3 separate regions of the Homo sapiens genome follow, and regions 1 and 3 are each linked to region 2. The links are contacts of gene promoters, found by promoter capture Hi-C in human tissues and cell types (Jung and others, 2019). All regions are on one chromosome and are shown on one strand. Each heading gives the region's core, a stretch centred on a gene start or on the middle of the fragment in contact. The rest is flanking DNA. Distances are from core to core; before and after follow the strand shown.

What was found. The method cuts DNA at HindIII sites, captures the fragments that hold promoters and counts their contacts. A contact is called where the count stands out against the background at its distance.
Region 1: a fragment that was not itself captured here is called in contact with the fragment with the promoter of BMP7 in region 2 in 4 of the 25 tissues and cell types used here (bladder, lymphoblastoid cells, mesendoderm cells and 1 more).
Region 3: a fragment that was not itself captured here is called in contact with the fragment with the promoter of BMP7 in region 2 in 1 of the 25 tissues and cell types used here (adrenal gland).

The regions. Positions count from the first base shown.
Region 1 is chr20:57,214,858-57,219,636 of GRCh38, forward strand. All of the region lies in intron 2 of BMP7 (bone morphogenetic protein 7), which reads right to left. BMP7-AS1 (BMP7 antisense RNA 1) reads left to right here. Exons shown (of 4, transcript NR_110631.1): 3 at 1-91; 4 at 651-1,009. Among named protein-coding and RNA genes, the nearest start is that of BMP7-AS1, 3.6 kb to the left of the region's middle. The HindIII fragment of the contact is 5,350 bases long and covers 1-4,420 here.
Region 2 is chr20:57,263,702-57,268,471 of GRCh38, forward strand. BMP7 (bone morphogenetic protein 7) reads right to left here and starts at 2,940. Exons shown (of 7, transcript NM_001719.3): 1 at 2,004-2,940. The coding sequence starts at 2,421. It overlaps LOC112268270 (translation initiation factor IF-2-like), which reads left to right and starts at 2,739. Exons shown (of 2, transcript NR_171651.1): 1 at 2,739-2,941; 2 at 3,082-3,586. RefSeq lists an enhancer at 604-1,319, a promoter at 2,428-4,770 and a cis regulatory region at 3,047-3,139. The HindIII fragment of the contact is 13,311 bases long and covers 1-4,770 here.
Region 3 is chr20:57,300,743-57,305,544 of GRCh38, forward strand. LOC105372687 (a long non-coding RNA gene) reads right to left here. Exons shown (of 12, transcript XR_007067670.1): 4 at 4,070-4,168; 5 at 3,430-3,613; 6 at 1,739-1,879. Among named protein-coding and RNA genes, the nearest start is that of MIR4325, 18 kb to the right of the region's middle. RefSeq lists an enhancer at 545-1,080. The HindIII fragment of the contact is 5,243 bases long and covers 366-4,802 here.

The DNA.
Region 1 (4,779 bases), core at 496-2,995, 50 kb before region 2:
GGCCTCTCCACCAGGCACACAGCTTAGCACAAAGCAGGCCTCAGATGCACGCTGGACAAATGTGCTGGTATCCTCTGCATCCTTATGGCCAGTAAGGTTTTCTGGTTTCACTTCCAATAGTTTACATTATTAAAAGAGAAATGGTAAATACTTTTTCAGATTATTCAGGTAGCTCCAGAAATGGCTCTGACTCACAGTTCACTGGGGCCTTAGCCCACCCAGCCCACTCTATGTCCCACTGGGCACCCACACTCCCAGGCCATGGGCACCCAGCTGCACATCCTAGTTGAAGGGAAACCCTCATCAGCCCCTGGGCACCTCCATACCCCCCACCTTCACAGGCCTGGCTATGGAACCAGGGGGCTGTCAAATTACCTCAAATTGACCCCTCACTGGAAACTGCCAGGCTGCATGGGCTTCCGGTTGAGTGCCCCCATTTACTGTCCCCATCACCTCTTCGGAGCCACCTCCTTTCCCCACATCAGGCAAAAATCAAGAGGACTCAGGTGGGCAGAAAGCAACAGCTGGGAAGAAAGCACATCTCACATTTCCTTTTGGACCTGACTCTTGTCCCTCTTTGCTTAAGATATCAGGGTTTGAGCCCCAGAATTTCTGGAAAACTGGAGGCTCTACTGTTCCATTCAACCCAGGCATGATCCATCCAGAAACCCAGTGGAACTGAGCCGCGAGCTGGATTCCAGCTCACAGAACACACCAAGAACTCTGGTGAAACATCAAGAACTCTGGGGGGTCCCCCCAGAAAAATCTGGGGGGCACTGCAGAGCTTCTGACACGGCTCTGGGGGAAATCCCACACGGATGGGCAGCTGCCTGCATCTGGCACTGTGGAGGTGGGCGGGCAGCCATGGAGGATGGGGAGACTCATCTTTCTAGACTTCTCCTGGGGACCGCATTTCCTCCAGCCTCCAGGTCCAGACCAAAATAGAATGAGGTAAATTCAGCCCCTTTCCTGAAGCACACTCAAGGAATAAACAAGCACCACAAATACAGTCTTCGGGCTGGGTCATCTTTCCAACCTCATTTTTTTTTTTTTTTAAGAGAACCACAGGCTGTTTTAAGATTCCAAACCCAGAGACAGAAAAAGTGCAGCAAAGCAGGGCGACAAGGGGAAAGAAACTTGACAGTGCTTTGCAGACAGAAACAAGTGACGCAATTTCCAAATTCAAGATTCTCAAAAACAGAGGCTGGGTTGGAACATCTAGAGAAGGCCAGAGCGGGCTGTTCTAAGACTTATTCTCACGGTAGCATCCTGAAGCCGGGGGGGTCCAGGAAGGGGGCAGGCTGAGGACATCAGCTTGCACTTGGTAGGCCCTCACCAGGTCCCAGAAGCTGTGCCGGTGCCAAAGCTGCCCCTTGCCAGGAAGCCCTCCCGGCTGCCCTGTGTGGTTGACACTTGGCCTCTGTCATGCTTCAGTGACCCCAGAGGCAGGTCCTGAGTCAAGGACTTGAATGCAAGTAGTTTGTCTGAGAGGTGACCCCAGGAACCACCTGGAGAGGGCGGGGAAGTAAGGCAAGCTTGGAGATTGTCAAAACAGAACACTGTGGGCCTGGGACTTCAGCCCGTCAGAACCTCCTGGAGCAGCTCCAGAGGGGTGCACCTGAGGACGAGGGCGCTGTCTCCTGAGGGCGAGGGGGCTGTCTCCTGAGGGCGAGGGGGCTGTCTCCTGAGGGCGAGGGGCTGTCTCCTGAGGGTGAGGGGCTGTCTCTTGAGGGCGAGGGGCTGTCTCCTGAGGGTGAGGGACTGTCTCCTGAGGGTGAGGGGGCTGGGGAATTCTCCATAGACCTTGACTCCGACTCCTCAGTGGGTCAGAGAAAGTTCCCCGCAGAGCTCCCACATAGGGGAAGGTGTGTGGGGAGGGGAAGCCTCGAGGTCTGCGGCTCAGCGGGTCCATCTCTCCGAGGAGGAGTGGAGGCCCTGTCCAAGGTGGCAGTTGGTGAGGCTGACATGGTGGGAGTCACCACCTGAGCAGCCAGACATGGGCTGGAGGAGAAATGCTGTCTACATTCATGGCAGGGACCCCCGCCAGGACAACCTGTGGTGGCATCTGCAGAGAAAAGACTCAAACACCAGTGATGCTGGGGAAGCTGGAGGATCCCTCTTATGTCCAGGAGCCAGACTAGGGCCTCAGAGATGCTTTTCCTACTGCACCGTGAGCCCCCGCATGTGGAACACCCAAGGGGAAAGGGATGGAGGCAGGACTCAGCTGGAGAAAGCTTTCCAAGGAGAATGACCATGACAGGTTTGTTGGGAGGCTCCTGGTTCCAGCTCTCAATCCCACTTGCAAACCTGACTCCCAAACCACCCCACCCACCCTCTCCCACTTCCGGGACCTGTGGGTTCAACCCCAGAGCAAGAGGCTGAGCCCGCTCCCTAAGCCCACAGCATGGAGGGGAAAGAGCCTGCTATTGAGGACACCTCAAGTGCCATCTTTAAAGCGCCCCTAACTAGGCCCTGGGGAAGAGTTAGGAGACAAAGAACCCTTACCCCAAAAAGGCTCTTATAATCTCATTTCCACTCAAGAAGCAAAGCCACATGGAGTGCTCTGTGCCAGGCACTGAGGTCGCCATAGCTGAAAGCCCAGGGGTTACAAGGACTCCAGTCTGGGGACCCCGTGTGGCTGTGACCCACGTCACTCAAGTTCAGAAGACATCGAGCCACAGCCAGAGTGTAGGGATTCAGGTTGAATTTTAAAATAGGTGGGGCTGAGATAGACGGAGCGATAGTGGGAGAGGACTCTGCATCAACTCCCTCCAAACGCTGGGTGACTGTCACTTTCAGAAACAAGCAAAGCAGGAGAAACACATAGGCAGGAGGAGCCCCAGGGAATGTGGCCACTGAAGGGTAGGTGGCGTCCTGGACAGGACAGAAGGACAAGAAGTAAAAGCAAAGGGGTCCGGAATAAATGATTGACTTTCATTAATAAAAATGCAGATGCTGGGTCCTTAATTATGAAAACTGTACCCTATTGATGTTAGGTGTTAAAACAGGGGAAACCAGGCGTGTCTGCGCATCTGTGTGCTGTGTCTGTGTCTGTGTTTCTGTGGATCTGTCTGTGTTTCCACGTGTTTACGTGTACAGGAGACAGCTGGAAATGAGGCTGGGGCTGAAAGGTATCTGTATAAAGATACCTATCAACACAGATATCAACAGACATCTGTATCCAGGGAGATGGCAAGGCCAGGGCCGGCTTCATGGGCATCTGACCCGTGCAGTCACACAGGGCCCGACACACAGAAGTACGCCGAGCTTGGTTTCATGCTCTGCTGTTGCTGTCTTGAAATCCTTTATACATTTTTGACACATTTTCATTTTGCACTGGGCCCAGAAGGTGACACAACCAGTCCTGGGAGCTTGTTTTTAAACATTCATGATGAAAACTCCTAGCCCCTACACCTGACTAGTTGGGGTTAAACATGGGAACCTGTATTTTTCTCTTCCAATATATTTCCAGGAGGTTCTGACAACAGCTGGGTTTGAGCACCACCTCGGACAGATGTGTGTGAGGAGCTGCACAGCTGGTGTTTGGTGGTAGCTGGTGTTTGTTTGGTGGTAGCTGGTGTTTGGTGGTAGCTGGTGTTTCTTTGGTGGTAGCTGGTGTGTGTTCGGTGGTAGCTGGTGTGTGTTTGCTGGTAGCTGGTGTTCGGAGGTAGCTGGTGTTTGGTGGTAGCTGGTGTTTTGTAGTAGTAGCTGGTGTTTGGTAGTAGCTGGTGTTTGGTGGTAGCTGGTGTTTGTTCAGTGGTAGCTGGTGTTTGTTCAGTGGTAGCTGGTGTTTGTTCGGTGGTAGCTGGTGTTTGTTCAGTGATAGCTGGTGTTTGGTGGTAGCTGGGTTTGTTTGGTGGTAGCTGGTGTTTGTTCGGTGGTAGCTGGCATTTGTTCGGTGGTAGCTGGTGTTTGTTTGGTGGTAGCTGGTGTTTGGTGGTGCTGGTGTTTGTTTGGTGGTAGCTGGTGTGTGTTCGGTGGTAGCTGGTATGTGTTTGCTGGTAGCTGGTGTTTGGTGGTAGCTGGTGTTTGGTGGTAGCTGGTGTTTGGTGGTAGCTAGTGTTTGTTCAGTGGTAGCTGGTGTTGGTTAGGTGGTAGCTGGTGTTTGTTCAGTGATAGCTGGTGTTTGGTGGTAGCTGGGTTTGTTTGGTGGTAGCTGGTGTTTGTTTGGTGGTAGCTGGCGTTCGGTGGTAGCTGGCATTTGTTTGGTGGTAGCTGGCGTTTGTTCAGTGGTAGCTGGTGTTTGGTGGTAGCTGGTGTTTGTTCGGTGGTAGCTGTTCGGTGGTAGCTGGTGTTCAGTGGTAGCTGTTCGGTGGTAGCTGGTGTTTGTTCAGTGGTAGCTGGTGTTTGTTCGGTGGTAGGTGGTGTTTGGTGGTAGCTGGTGTTTGCTGGTAGCTGGTGTTTGCTGGTAGGTGGTGTTTGGTGGTAGGTAGCAGTGAGCAAGGTAAGTGGGAAGGTGGGAAGAAGACAGGGTGGGCGAGGGACTTCCCACTTAAGTATGTTCAACTTCGGCTGTGTCACCCAGAGGTACTTGACATCCCTCCCTCCCTCCACCCTGTGCTTCTCAGTCAGGGCCTAGTTAGAGGCCCTTTTAAAGATGGGACCCTGACAATATCTGGTGACATTTTTGGTTTCACAACTGAGTGTGGGGATGTGTCATTGGCATCTGGTGGGCAGAAGCCAGGGCTGCTACCGAATGCCCTACTATGCCCAGGATGGCCCTTAACCCCAGAGAATGAGCCACCCCCAAAGGTCACTACTGCGGAGGCTCGGAAACCG
Region 2 (4,770 bases), core at 1,690-4,189:
CTAACCCCAGGCTTCAGGAGGGCGACAGAGCTCTGCGTTCATTATTTATATGTATGTATTTGGAATTTTCCTTTAGTTTTTGGTATAGTTAATAAATACACATTGTTTTAAAAAAATCACAAATACAGAAGTGCAGACGACGAAAAATCAGACCCCACCTCCCACTCCGTAAGCCCCAGCTATGCCCCCGCCTCTCTACCCCTCCAGTAAAATCTCTCTCCAGTTCCTGGTGTCTTCCTCCAGGAGGACACGATGATATACAAGCACACATGCAGCCCACTCATCTGCACCTTGCTTCTTTCCACCTCATACATCTTGGAGATGGTTCTAAATCAGGTCATATGTTGCTGCTTCCTTCTTAACTGGCTGCTTAGTATAATTTAAACTTTTTTGAAGGTATTTTGGCATCTAAACCTCCCACCCCTTGCTCGCTGAAGCTTGGTTCACTAGTTGGATTTAGTTATTATTAAGTACAGACAATGGCCTCCCGGGAACTCCAGGGACCTTATCAGGAGGGGGAAGCATGAAGGCGGATCTGCGCTTCCCCCGCGCCCCCAGTCCACGCCCCAGGTGCCCAGCGTGGGGCTTCAGTATCATTATTTCCATGTTGACACAGCGCCCGTGGGCGTGAGTTTGCTGTCTTGACTTGGTTCGGGTTTTCGCAGCAAGTTACACAAGTAGAATGAAAGCGGCTCAGGAAACAGCGCTATCGGGGTGTGTTATCTCGGAAACCAAATATTTGATCATCAGTCCCGCAGCGCGCTGGCGCTGCCGGGGGGTTAGTTTGAGCAAGTCTGGAGAATGTGCGCGCACATATGGAGGGGGAGCTCCCCGGCCCTCGCTGCAGCCCCAGGCTCGCGTCGCCGGGGTCGTCGCGGCTCCAGTCGGAAACCGGGACCCCCAGCCGCCCCCGCGGCGTCAGCTCTGAGATCCCGCGCAACCCAATCGCCAAAACCTGTGGTTTGCGCGCCACACGTGGTAAATGCTGAAAATAGATTCTGCCGGCCCGGGACCTACCACTAAATACTTAAAATAGAAGACTAGCGGCAGGGCACAGTGGCTCACGCCTGTAATCCCAGCACCACTTTGGGAGGCTGAGGCGGGAGGATCACCTGAGATCGGGAGTTCGAGACCAGCCTGCCTAACATGGAGAAACCCTGTCTCTACTAAAAATACAAAATTAGCCAGGCATGGTGGCGCATGCCTGTAATCCCAGCTACTCGGGAGGCTGAGGCACGAGAATCGCTTGAACCCGGGAGGCAGAGGTTGCGGTGAGCAGAGATCGCGCCATTGCACTCCAGACTGGGCGACAAGAGTGAAACTCCGTCTCAAAAAAAAAAAAAAAGAAAAGAAAAGAAAAAAAAAGAAAAAAGAAAAAAATAAACAAAGAAAGAAAACAAAGAAAATTAGCAATGGCACCGTTTCTTCCCCAGCTCCAGCCAAGAGAGAATGGGGCATCCGGCGGCCCGGAGAGGGGCCCCAAGGCGCTCGGAGCGCGCGGTACGCTAAGGCGGGCGCACCACGAGGGGACAGGTAGGGCTTGACAGGGAGGGTAAGGGGGTGCGACGGCCGCGATGCCAGAGCCAGGCAGGGCTGAGAGGGGCCCAGGAAGGGCGGCAAGGCAGCCTCGCCGGGAAGGGCCCTTTACATCCAGGTAGCGCGAGCCGCGCCGGCCCGGGACAGCTCACATGACCGAGCCCCGCGCTTTGAACGGCCCTTGCCTCCAGCCCCAGAGATGCGGCCGGCGGCGTAACATGGAGGGGACTTCGGAGGATCCCTCCTTCCCAGTAACCCCTACAGGCTCACCGAACCCAGCGCGCCCGACCTGGGGGCGCACACAGCTTGGGAGTCATAGGGCTGTGGGTGGGAGACCCTCGGGCAGGCACTGCGATTTCAGCCAGGAGCGGAAAGCTGGGCGGGCTGCATAGAAGAAGCGGCTCCCTCCCTCCCAGTCTCAAAGTGCCCCCGAAAGGAGACGCGTACCCTCGCCTGCCCTTACTCACCGAGGTTGACGAAGCTCATGACCATGTCGGCGTCGGTGAGGAAATGGCTATCTTGCAGGCTGGCCAGAGGGGGGCCCTGGGTACTGAAGACGGCCTTGTAGGGGTAGGAGAAGCCCTGGCCGCCGGGCCCGCCGCCCTCCTCCACCGCCATGGCGTTGTACAGGTCCAGCATGAACATGGGTGCCGAGTTGTGCTTGCCCTGGAGGTGCGGGCGCGGGCGGTGGGGCAAGCCCAAAATGGAGAGGATCTCGCGCTGCATCTCCCGCCGCTCCTGGCTGCGGAGGCGCCGGTGGATGAAGCTCGAGTGCACCTCGTTGTCCAGGCTGAAGTCGGCCAGGGCGGAGCGCAGCAGGAACAGGGGTGCCCAGAGCGCCACGAAGCTGTGCGGCGCCGCAGCTCGCAGTGAGCGCACGTGCATCGCGCCGGCTCTACGCGCTACCCGGGCTCCGGGCTCCGGGCCCGCACCGCCCCAGGTGGCAGAGGGGGCAGGCGGCCGTCCGCGCCGCTCGGTCACTTGCTGCAGACGGGCCCCGCTGCGCCCGCGCCAGACATGGCCCCTCCCCGGCCGGCCGCGCTCTGCCCGGACCCCCGCCCCCTGCTCGGTGCTGGCCCCGGGCCCCTCGCCCCGCACTCGCCCGGGCGCACCGCAGGGCTTGGAAAGCAGCCCCGGCGAACGAAAAGGCGAGTGAGGAGGCGGGCGCGGGTGGGAGGAGCAGCCAGCAAGCCTAGGAGTCCAGAGAGCCAACGCCGGGGAGGCAGCGAGGAGGCAGGCGGGCGGGCGAGCGCTCCTTCTTCCCGCTCCTCTGGCGCTCTCGCCCTCGGGCGGCGGCAACCCACCCTCTTCCAACCTCCGGCGCGGATAGCAGGGGCCCCGGGGCGCTCTCCCAGCCTTGTGCGCCCTGGATCGCACAAGAGGCCGCCTCGGGAGCGCCAGAGTGGTACGCGCTGGGGCCTGGGCGGAGGAGGAGGAGGAGGAGGACGGGCTTCGAGGGGCCCCTCCCGCGCCGGCGGCCTCCCACCTGCCCTCGGCCCCGCCCTCCCCCCAGCTGTGCCCAGTGGGTTCATTCATTCCCTCTAGAGCGCTCGACAAATGTTTACTGAGTGCCCACGGGGTGCCTAGAGCCTGGCGGGACGTCGCGGGGATGCGGCTGGAGGAATCGGAGCCGGCCCTGCCCTCTCGGCACTCGCGGTCCGGACCAGGAAGGCGGCCCGAGCAGGACGGGTGGGCTGCGGACCGCGGTGGGAAAAGTTGGGGGAGCGCGGAGGTGGCGCGGAAATAGAAGGCTTCCTGGAAGCGGTGACCCTTGAGCCGGTCTTGCCCCTCAGTCCCTGTATCCTTTTAAGCCAGCCACGCTGACCCCTCCGCGCCTCCCTGAAGCCGTTGCCAGCCTGTCTCTGCGCTCGCCATTCCCTCCGCCTGGACCTCTCCCCACTCACCACCTCCCGCCCCCATCAGACGCTGCTTTCTCCTCCCAGAGACCTCCAAGACCTGCCAAGCTGAGGTTGTTTCCTCGCCTCGCCCCTCGCACGTTTGTTTTCTTTCCTGTAGTTTCTCTTGCTGTCTGGAATTGCTGTTTGAGTTACTCCGTGCCTTCTTTATTGCCTTCTTACCCCCGCTAGACACCCAGAGCACTGGGGCCCGGATCAGCGATCTTCTCCGCACCTCTGGTACCCGCAGTGCCTTGAACCCAGCGCCTGGTAGCCACTGTAGCTGCGCAGTCACGATTTGTTGAGTGAATAAGTGAACTGCGTGTGAGCTGGGGGGGTTCTTCCCACCTCCTCCTCTTCGGGGCCCTGTATCTTTCCAGCCACCCCTCAGCCTGAGACCAGACACCCCAGCCCCACCACTAGGGCTTCCCATCAGCCCTCCTCGTGGCAGTGCCTGGGGAGCCAGCCGCTGGTCTTCACATCCTCTTCCCCTCCAAGGGTCTGTGCCTGAGACCTCCCCATCGGCCTCCTCTCCTGTCTCTCCTCATCCATTCATCCCTCAATCAATACCGAGCCATGCACGCTGTCACAGGGAGTCCCCAGACCACTCAGAACCCACCGGTCCCTCTGCCGGTGTGGGATCTCAAGGGAATTACTGCACCCAGAGTGGCAGTGAGGGCAGCGGGGTAAAAGTTCATCCTGTCTCCTTCCCCTCCTGGGGCTGGGTGAGAGAGTGGGTCCCCAGAGGGCCTTTGGGATGAACTGGGAAGGGCTGAGGTTGGGGAAGCGGGGGCGCTTGTCTGGGAGGGGCTCTGGCTAAGCCTCACTTTGGGGCTGTCCTTCCTGGAGCAGGAGAGCTGGGGAAGAGAATTATGGTCTTCTACAGTTTTCTGGAGCAGAAGTAGTTTGGCCAAGTGGCCCTCTGGGTCTCCCTTGGGGACTTTTGGACTAGATGGCAGCCTGAGGGGCCACATGGGTGGAGAAAGGGGAGGCCAGAGGCCAGGCAAGGAGCAGAAAAATGCCAGCCTGCAGGTCCTGGCCATTTACACACAGGCCCCAGGCTGTGGGATGGAACAGGTCTTGAGCCCCATGCCAGGGAGGGGCCTCTACCCACCCACCAGGCAAGGCCCTCAAACCACCCCCACCACCTGCTCTTCATCCATTCACTCCTTCCTTCAACAGACAAGCATGGAGCACAGGATATCAGGAGGCGAGCTGTGGGGCCTGCAACCTGGACAGTCGTACAGGGCCCCCCAGCTCTTAAGGGCCCCACACTTGGTTTCCTACTCTGAGGTCACCATATGTGGTTCTGAATCACCTATGAACAAAGTACCCCCTG
Region 3 (4,802 bases), core at 1,737-4,236, 37 kb after region 2:
CTGCTCTCTGTCCCACAGGACACTCACTGAGTAAAACGACAGGAGGAATCACCAAATATCTCGGTTTTTTTCAAAGTGCATACCACTGAATATGATGAATTAAATTCACGCCTATCATGACTTCAGTCCTCTACAATCAACCCCATTTTGGAGGCTAAGGCTCTGTTAGGAGGAGGGTTCACCCTAAAATCTGCAGAGTGGTTGAGCTGAACGACAGTCCCACTTTGAGTCCATCTCACGCTGGACCTCTCTGGAAAAATCGTCCAAAAATAGGTTCTGGGTCAGGCTACATTTTCCCTGGAAGGCTCCAAGAATGGTTTGCCCAGTGCTCTGATCCTGAGGTTGCAAATCTCCCCCAGCTGCAGAGAGTGCCCCCAGGCATGCTCCCCTGCCCAGCTGTGAGGCAGCTGCTCACGGGGCTCTCAGAAGTACCTTCCTCGCACCTGCCGCAGGCCCGTGTGACTCTCTTTCACGCACGCATCGTGTTACAGCCTCGCGTTCAGGCCCTGCGGCTGCTTTCATGTGCACTGCTGCCACGTCTGCAACTTGCCCTCCTTGGGGCCCGTGGCACCCACCATGCACCAAGCAGTCTGTCAGCAAGAGCCAGGTGCTCAAAGAGAAGTGAGCTCCGGTGACATCCAGGGGACTGCATGAGGCAGACCCCCAGGGAGTTGGTGTCGAAGCCTCCTTCTCCCGCTCCTGTCCCCACTTCCAGTCTGCAACCGCGCTCTGCCAATCTCATCCCCCAAGGAGCCCCCAAATGCATCGGCATTGCTGTGGCCCTGTCACCACCATCTCAACCCGGTCAGTGCTGCCTCTCCCTGGACAGCTGTCCCTCGATCTGCGATCACTTCGTAGCTATCCATTCTCCACGTTGAGTCCAGAACCATCTATGGAATCATGAATAGCAGCCAATCACAGTGAGCCTCACTAACTTCCAGGTGCTGGTCTAAGGGCATCGTGCACATTAACCCATTTCAGCTTCTTTTTTTTTTTTTTTTTTTTGAGATGGAGTCTCGCACTGTCACCCAGGCTGGAGTGCAACGGCGTGATCTCGGCTCACTGCAAGCTCCACCTCCCGGGCCCATGCCATTCTCCTCCCTCAGCCTCCTGAGTAGCTGGGACTACAGGCACCCACCAGCAAGCCCGGCTACTTTTTTGTATTTTTAGTAGAGATGGGGTTTCACCATGTTAGCCAGGATGGTCTCGATCTCCTGACCTCATGATCCGCCCTCCTCGGCCTCCCAAAGTGCTGGGATTACAGGTGTGAGCCACCGTGCCTGGCCTTTTTTTTTTTTAGATGGAATCTTGCTCTGCCTCCCAGGCTGGAGTGCAATGGCACAATCTCAGCTCAGTGCAACCTCCACCTCCCAGGTTCAAGCGATTCTCCTGCCTCAGCCTCCCCGAGTAGCTGGGATTACAGGCGCCTGCCACCATGCCAGGCTAAATTTTGTATATTTAGTAGAGATGAGGTTTCACCATGTTGGCAAAGCGGGTCTCAAAGTCCTGATCAGGTGATCCGCCTCCCTCAGCCACCCAAAGTGCTGGGATTACAGGCATGAGCCACCGCACCCGGCCCATTTCAGCTTCTTAACCAACCCATGGCGGATGGTACAGAAGAGGAAACTGAGACCCATACAATAAATAACGTGCTTTAAGTCCCATATCTCAAAAGTGGTAGTAGCAAGACGTGAACCCAAATCGTCAGATTCCAAACCACCTACTGTGAACCACACACCATGCGCGCAGAATGTCTGGGGCTCTCTTTGCATCCATGTCCAGCTAAAGTGGCTTTGCAGGGGCAAGATCTGTGTTTCCAAGGATCCTTCTTTCAGGGGCTTCAGGTTAGTTTTTGCAAGGAGAGGTTCTTGTGAGAAACCTGGACAGTGGAAGAAAAGAAGGAGCTGCTGATCTCCGAGGCAGCTGCAGCCAGGCCCACAGGAGACCTGAGGATTCCCAGGGGCTTCCCAGTGATCTCCTGACAACCACACACCCAGAGCTTCTTCTTGAGCCCTCTGTGAAGCAGGCCATGATCTTTCCTGGCAACATCTCCATCCTTCACTACCTTTGCTCCTGCAAAAGCCCCCAATTCCTCGATTAAACCCCACAAACTTGGAGTACCTAGAGTAGCTTCTATTTCCTAAGCTCTGATCCACTGCCATCCACTATTGATGCCTGAGGCATACTGATCATTTCAACCCCCACCTCACGATTGCTCTTAGACAAGGACCAACACCCGCACCAGTCCTGCAGGTGCTACTTGCACCGCTCCACGGTCCTCTCCAGTCTCCTCTCCCCATTTCCTGTCCTGTTCCCGATACCTCTCTGCTGTCCAGCCTCACCCACTTCTGAGGTCACCATCCTTCCTTGGAACATCTGCACCTGCAGTACCTTTTGCCTGGAACTCTCTTCTCTGCCACTCAGACCAGGTAACTTCTCATCTGTCAGACTTCAGCTCAGACATCACCTCCTCCATGGAGCCATCCCTGATTCCCCAAGGGGGAATTCCTCAAGGGATGCCCTCGAGGTTTAGGGCACTGGTCACATTGTTATTTGTGTGGTTGTGATATGGTTTGGCTGTGTCCCCACCCAAATCTCATGTTGAATTGTATTAAGATAATTAATAGTTCCCATAATCCCCATGTGTCACGGGAGGGACCTGGTGGGAGGTAATTGAATTGTGGGGTGGTTACCCTCATGCTCTTCTCATGATAGTGAGCGAGTTCTCACAAGAGCTGATGGCTTTGTAAGGGGCTTTCCCCACTTTTGCTCAGCACTTCTCCTTGCTGCTGCCATGTGAAGAAGTATGTGTTTGCTTCCCCTTCCGCCATGATTGTCAGTTTCCTGAGGCCTTCCCAGACATGCTGAACTGAGGGTCAATTAAACCTCTTTTCTTTATAAATTACCCAGTCTCGGCCAGGCGTGATGTCTCACGCCTGTAATCCCAGCACTTTAGGAGGCTGAGGTGGGTGGATCACCTGTGGTCAGGAGTTCAAGCCTGACCAACATGGTGAAACCCCATCTCTACTAAAAATACAAAATTACCCGGGTGTGGTGGCGCATGCCTATAATCCCAGCTACTCTGGAGGCTGAGTCAGGAGAATCACTCGAACCCAGGAGGTGGAGGTTGCAGTGAGCCGAGATCACGCATTGCACTCCAGCCTAGGCAACAAGAGTAAAACCCCATCTCAAAAAAAAAAATTACCCAGTCTTGTGTATGTTTTTATTAGCAGCATAAGAACAGACTAATACAGGCTGATTCTCGAGACTGTAACTTCAGGAGAGCAGGACCATGCCTGTTGGCTGTCCATGGCATCCCCAGCCCAGAGCAGTGCCCACCCCCAAAGATTCTTATTAAGTAACCACTGCGTAAGGAACAGCCCTGGGGGAAGACTGGGCCTAGATAACCCTGAGACAGGCAGTCCTCACCATACATGATGCCTATAGGGACAGAGGAGAAGGTGTGAGATTGCTCCCAGCCAGGAAACACAGGGCGTCACAATGACCCCAGCTTTGGAGAAATACAGGGATGGGGCAGCCGGGGACACAGTGGGAGAGGCTGAGAGAGCACTGTGTCTTCTGGCCAGGCAGGAAGCTGGATATGGAGGTAGGCCTGCGGGAAGAAGGTTAAGTACCAACATGTATTCTTTTGTCTGTAAAACAGACCCACTCTCTTCATCAGGGGAACTGCTTTTTCCCAGTATGCTTTCCCACCATGGTCCTGGTACAGCTGCTGATCCCTGTGACCAGATCTCCTGGCTATGGTGTGGGGCACAAGACTCACAGCCTCATGCCCTTGGCCACCATGGTTTTGGGTCTTTACAAAGGTATTTTAATGATGCAGGGAAAAGTTTACACTACTTAAGTGAAGCAGCAACACATACAATTCTATGAGTACAATGACCTCAATTGTATAAAAATATCTATAGTGCATTTAAAAGCGCTAGAAGGAAATATGGCTTCCTCTGAGTGTGAGATTGTGGGCAATTTTTTCCTCTATATTTTCCAATATGTCATGCGTTACCCTATAACCCCGGAAGAAAACATTGCTAAAAGGGGGGAACCACACCTGAATAGCCTCTTAAGAAGAGCGTTCTGCCCACAGGTTGCCACGGGGCTGCAAGCGAGGCAGCTGTTGAAGGGGTGACAGCCAGAGCTCCTCGGGCCACTGCCGTGACAACAGAAAGGGAGAAGGTGAACACTATGAGAGATTTCTAAGAAAGATCTTTGTACAGGACATTTGATGGTTTTGTCTTCTCTTCTCAGAATGTTAATCTTTTCTTTCTTCTAGGACTTTTCCTCAGAGACTATAAACTGAATGCTTGTACCCCCAGTGTGATGGGATTTGGAGATGAAGCTTTTGGGGGATGACCAGGGTTAGATGTCAGGAGGCCCTGGTCTGATGTGATGGGAGTGGTGCCCTTCTTAGCAGGGACACCGACCAGAGCGTTTGCTCGTTGATGCCCTACCTCCGTGCACACCGAGGAAAGGCTGTGTGAGCCACAGTGAGAAGGCGGCCATCTGTAAGCCAGGAAGAGGGCCTGCGCCAGAACCTGACCATCTTGACACCTGGACCTTGGACTTCCAGCCTCCAGAATGGTGAAAATATATATTTCTGTTGTTTAAGCCACCCAGTTTACGGTATTTTGCTACAGCAGCCGAAGTAGGCTAATACAGAGACCCCCACCCAACCCTGCAACTCTCTCCACATAGTCCGGTGGGGCTGAGCCTGGCTCTGTCCACGGGTGAACTGGGCAGAGAGTATTGCATCCTCCCACCCCCACGAGCAGGGATGGACAAGC